Linked DNA regions of Homo sapiens: region 2 is linked to region 1. The links are contacts of gene promoters, found by promoter capture Hi-C in blood cells and fetal thymus (Javierre and others, 2016). All regions are on one chromosome and are shown on one strand. The core of a region is centred on a gene start or on the middle of the fragment in contact, and the rest is flanking DNA. Distances in the headings are between cores, read along the strand shown.

Region 1 (2,700 bases), core at 74-2,573:
CCTGGGTGACAGAGCAAGACTCTGTATCCAAAAAAAAAAAGGACCAGACATATTGCATTGTTAACAAACTAGTTGTTAACCTTATGACCTCTGTAAAGGTCTCAGGGATTTCCAGAGGTCTGGGGACCACACTTTGAGAATCACTAGATTAAAAGGGGGAAAACATGGGAGGAAAAAAAGGTCACATAATGGAAACATACTGTTGGATTGAATTTCGTATATAAAAACCCTTTACTGAAATAAAGAGTAGAGACTTCAAGTACCAAGAGAAGCAGATTAGAAGAGGAGGAAGGCTCTAGGGACTGATCAGGTCTGGAGGCAGGGTTTTAAATGGGCCTTGAAGGGTTCGTGCAGTTTGGAAGGAAGGGATGGGAGGGAAAAGCTTGCTGAATCGTATAAATGAACAAGACCCTGATGGTGAGCTCTTGAGGATATGAAAGGCAAAAAGCACTAAGGCCGGGCTTTTGTTCCTCTGTGGCCCTGCATATATGAGGAGGTGATGAGTAATTCTATATTTTTATCAGCTTTACCGTTTAAAACTCCAAGGGAGGAAAACCCTTCAAACTGATAGGCTTGGGGCTTGGTGAAGGTGGGGTATTAGTGAAAAAGATGTGAAGTTTCTTTATCGAAAATACATGTATGTCCAAGAAATTCTCTGTAGATAAAAACTAACAAGAAAAAGAGTTTGTCAGAGAGGAAAAGTAGTTTTGCTAATTTATTTTTGATCATTTGCAAAGCCCATGGAAGTGTGTGGCAAGAGGATTGTGGTGTCTTAGGATATTCACATAGGTCTGAAACAAGGAAAACATACTTCTGTTGAAAGCACCATTCCAACATATTGTTATTAGCAGTCCCTGAACTAACGGGTAGTGGGTGGGTACTGTGTCCATCAGCTCAGCGAACCGCAATTGCCTCATTGACAGCAAGCCCAGCAAGGAATCACTTGGAATATTAATTTCCGTGGCCTTTCGCAATCACACGAAGCTTGGCTCCCTGCGCTTGCCGTAACGCGGCCTGTACCATTGCTTTCCGGGTGGCGGGGGGGATTTGGCAGCAGCGGAAGAAGGAGACCGGAGGGTGTGTGTTGGGCAAAGCCGGAGGCAGAGGAGGACGATTGTTTTACGGATCCCGTGATCGGCCCGTCCTTCTCCCCTTTCCCCCCCTCCCTACCGCCCCTGTCCCGCCGGGGAGCGGCGGCGGCCTTGGACTTTGCTGTCTTTCCTCGCGGAGACAGGTGAGTGTCGGCGCGCGGGCTCCCCGGGCTTCGCTCCCCACCCCCCGCGTCTCCGGGGCCGGTGGCGGCGGCCGGCCGGGGAGGCGGCCTCGGCGCACAGTAATGGCAGCGCTGTGAGCAGGGGAACGCGAGCTGACAGCCGCCGCCGCCGCCGCCTCCGCCCACCTTCCTCGCCGGGGCTTCGTCTTTCACTCCTTCGGGCTGCCTCCCCCTCCCCTTGTCCCCTGCCCCTTGCCCTGCTTCTGCAGAAGGTAACCCCGCTGAGGGTCGGGGAGCCGGGCTGCAGGCGCCGGGAAACTTCCCTTCCCGGTTAATGGGTGGCGGGGCTGGGGCGGAGGAGAGGAGTTGGGGGCGACGAGGTGTGGGGAGAGGGATGAAAGGGGGAGGCCCGGGAAGATGGTATCCTGTAAGTGACCTCGGCTCCCCAGAGCGCTGACCCGTAAGCCCTGCCACCCCCTGGACTGGATCCCGGGCCTCCCCAACCCGATCTTGGCCGCCTCTCCCGCGGCCCCATTTTCCTTCGAAGGAGGGAAGGTGAGAGTGCGTGTATTCTTCTACATATTTACGTGCTCACACGAATACACAACTCTGTGTGTTTGTGTGTGTGTGTGGGGGGGGGCATCTCATGCATCCTTACCCCGAGTGTTTTCACTTTTGTTTCCGCAGACTGCAAAGATTGATAGCTTTGGGGAGGAGTATCCTACGTGCATGCTAGACTTCTTGTCTCAACCCTTAGGGTCTGGTGAAATAAGATCCTCACACGCTTTCTAGCACTTGCTTACCCTCTAGAGAGTCTGGACCATTCCCTACCATTACGTGCATGCAAATAAAACATCTGTGAATTGCAGACTGTTATTAATGTTAAGTCCACATCTTTGCCCCATGGATTAATATTAACAGTTGAAGGCCAGTACCCTGGGCGTTTAAATTTTGAAGATAAGATGCAAAATATTAACGTTCGCTATAGATTGTGACTGTTCAACATAAACGTCTTTGAACTAGACCTGGCCAAGCCTACCTTCGTAGTAAAGTATCGGAAATAATCACTTTGATCTGATTGACAACTGACTACATAATAATCGCTTAAAAACATTCAAAACACTGTTGCCTACCCTTTAGAATCTTACATTCCTTTTCAAGACAGACACATGAACAAATGAGCTATACTTTGCTTCTTTTGCCCTTATACAGTATCTGGAAGATCCTTCCAAAAGAGTCGCGTGAGATAAGAGAAGTACACAGTTTTTTTGTTTTGAGATGGAGTTTTGCTCTTGTCACCCAGGCTGGAGTGCAGTGGTGCGATCTCGGCTCACTGCAACCTCCGCCTCCCGGGTTCAAGCAATTCTTCTGCCTTAGCCTTCCATGTAGCTGGGATTACTGGCATGCGCCACCATGCCCGGCTAATTTTGTATTTTTAGTGGAGATGGGGTTTCACCATGTTGGCCAGGCTGGTCTTGAACTCCTGA
Region 2 (2,700 bases), core at 7-2,506, 520 kb before region 1:
GATGAGTCATTGAGTTGAACTTTTAACATCAAGTTGGTTTTGTCTAAATCTACAAAATAATGAGCCAGAAAAGTATCAACTGCATCTCCGGCATATATTCATCCTTTTCTGACCCCCATACCTCTCTGAAAATGTGAGTCGTCTGCATTAAACAAAAATCTATTATTTTCTTTGTTAAAAAAAATAACTAAACTTGGGATTTGGTTTAAAGTGCACAAGAGAAATGGCTACTCCTTAAAAATTAAGCTTCCAGGCCAGGCGTGGTAACTCACGCCTGTAATCCCAGCACTTTGGGAAGCCAAGGCGGGTGGCTCACGAGGTCAGGAGATCGAGACCATCCTGGCTAACACGGTGAAACCCCGTCTCTACTAAAAACACAGAAAATTAGCTGGGCGTGGTGGCAGGCGCCTGTAGTCCCAGCTACTCGGGAGGCTGAGGCAGGAGAATCACTTGAACCCGGGAGGCAGAGGTTGCAGTGAGCTGAGATTGCATCACTGCACTCCAGCCTGGGCAACAGAGTGAGACTCTGTCTCCAAAAACAAAAAAAAAAAACCAAGCTTCCAGAATAAAACCTAAAGGTATCACCTTCTGATTAACATTTGTTGTTCTGTTCCTTTTCCTGGTAACGTAGCCACACCAGGGTTGCACACAAACACCCCTCCACCTGCTTTGGTCTTTGGAGTCAGCACCCCAGTGTCAGCACAGGATGATCTGTGAGAGAACAATGTCAAACGCAAGACTCCCTTACATGACGGAGGAACCGCGGAACCATTCAAAGAAACTAGAAGCCTCAGCTCTCTTCCCTCCAGAAAGGCACAGCCCTTTCTTTTGGGAGTGGGTGGACTTTCAGCTTGGTGCTTGCACACTGAAAATGAGTAAATACCTGGACCCTTTAAGGACTCAATTCCACCATGGCAGTGGAAATAAAAACAGCGCAGGAGTTTGGAGATGGTCCCAATACTCACCCACCATGGTCACGTTGCAGTTTAATGTGATGATGAGAAACCCTAGCAAGTCCACGCCTTCCATGCTTCCAGAATGTCCCAGGCTCCAGGCTGCAGGAGACACTGGAGGGCTGTGTTCTCCAAGGAGGCGGATAAATGTCCTTTAACTACATAAGACTTAAAGGTGTGAGCTGGAGATAAGAAAGCAAAGGTCTGAGCCAGGAGTAGGAGGTGGGTTTTTCTGTCTCCAAGTTGAGACGGCCCTAAGCCGTTTGCCTCTGAGGCGAAACATTCCTGACAACTGCAGTGACCAGCAGAGCAAGCAGCAGTCATCTCTTATTGTGGGCTATTCTTACTCGCCTGGGATATTCCCGGCCTGTGGCAGCGCTCATATGTCCCCACCAGGACAGCCAGATGCTTCAGGATATAATAGCAGCAACTACTTTTAACCCAAGAAAGAAAACTTCTGCTAACTAGCCAAGTAAATTTCTCTATTAAAAAGGCATTTCCTCCTTGAAAACATTTCCACAACCACTTCACTTGTGCAAGAAGCCCTTAAAGTGTTCACGTTTTGTCTTCTCAATCAAGCATGAATCGCCATGCCACCATCACACGAACCCACAAGGATCTCGCCCTTATTCTGAATTCCTGTGTCATTGGTGCAGGCAGAAATCTGAAACTCAGTTGGGTGTCCCAACTTTAGACCGTGACTTGGTTATTCTCCTGCTGCTTCCTGTGCAGTGAGTGACAACTCTTCGCTTGGAGACAAAAGCCTGGGTGCAAAGCCCGGGGCAGCCCCCTACTCACTGGGGAAGTCATTGGATCCTTCCAGATAGCCTCATCTTGCAATAAGGAGAATCATGCCATTCCACTTGCCATTTGTGGGAGGCTTATGTGAAATGATGGTGTAGAATAAGAGCAACTGGTGTGAAGTGGGTGTACGACAACCCATATCCGTGGGATTTCAATCCCTAATTGGCCTCTACGACCTTCACAGATTACATCTTCCCTTTGTATCTCCCAGCCCCATCTAGCCTGGAGCTGTTCCCATTGAATCTACTTAATAAATGTCTGTTAAATCTGTCATGAAATATCACGGTCTGGACCTGCTGACATCAATCACAGTTGCGTCAAAATCCTATCGCTGCAGCCACCTTCATATCTGGGAAGAACCCATCCTGCAGGGTTGGGGATCTATGATCAGGGTGGAAATTGTAAACTTTAAAAGGAATGATTTCAATTTTCCATGAAAGCTATTCTTTATATCCCCATCTTTTCTTCATTTCTGATCTATTCTTGACTTTAGTAATATCCCTAGAAAGATTCCCAGAAGAGTGCAACAAAGCTACTTTCATCTTTGCTCACATGACATGCTCCCATCCACGGAAAACGTTTTGACCCCCTTGAAAGGAACAGTGGTTTTGCTATATTTTAGTCAAATGCTTCGACATGAGCAAGGAAATTTGAGAAATTGTAGTTAAGTAAAAATATTGAAATAGTCACAGGGTGTAAGTATAAAATAAAGGAGAATTTGTCTCCTAATAGACTGCTCATGGTATTGGCTTTAAAAAAAAAATGAAATATCAGGAAAGCAATTACTGACTCTTGCTGTGTGATAGAAATAGCCCATCCCAAATGTGGAATAAATTAGCCCTGCGCGACCATGAGCAAATCACTGCAGCTTTTCATGCTTCGGTTTTCTCATCAGTGAAGCAGAAAAAAAGAATGTGTTCTTCACCCACTCACAGTGACTGTG

Evidence for each region. Contacts are between HindIII fragments. The CHiCAGO score rates a contact against its expected background, and 5 or more counts as called.
Region 2: the fragment with the promoter of GJD4 here is called in contact with the fragment with the promoter of CUL2 in region 1 in 1 of 17 cell types (total CD4 T cells); the score reaches 5.3 in total CD4 T cells.

What each region holds. Positions count from the first base shown.
Region 1 is chr10:35,088,964-35,091,663 of GRCh38, reverse strand. CUL2 (cullin 2) reads left to right here and starts at 1,323. Exons shown (of 21, transcript NM_003591.4): 1 at 1,323-1,485. RefSeq lists an enhancer at 903-1,042 and silencers at 961-1,149, 1,203-1,402, 1,423-1,552. The HindIII fragment of the contact is 6,346 bases long and covers 987-2,700 here.
Region 2 is chr10:35,603,897-35,606,596 of GRCh38, reverse strand. It overlaps GJD4 (gap junction protein delta 4), which reads right to left and starts at 1,256. Exons shown (of 2, transcript NM_153368.3): 1 at 966-1,256. The coding sequence starts at 1,029. GJD4-AS1 (GJD4 antisense RNA 1) reads left to right here. Exons shown (of 2, transcript NR_199600.1): 2 at 632-2,035. The HindIII fragment of the contact is 9,701 bases long and covers 560-2,700 here.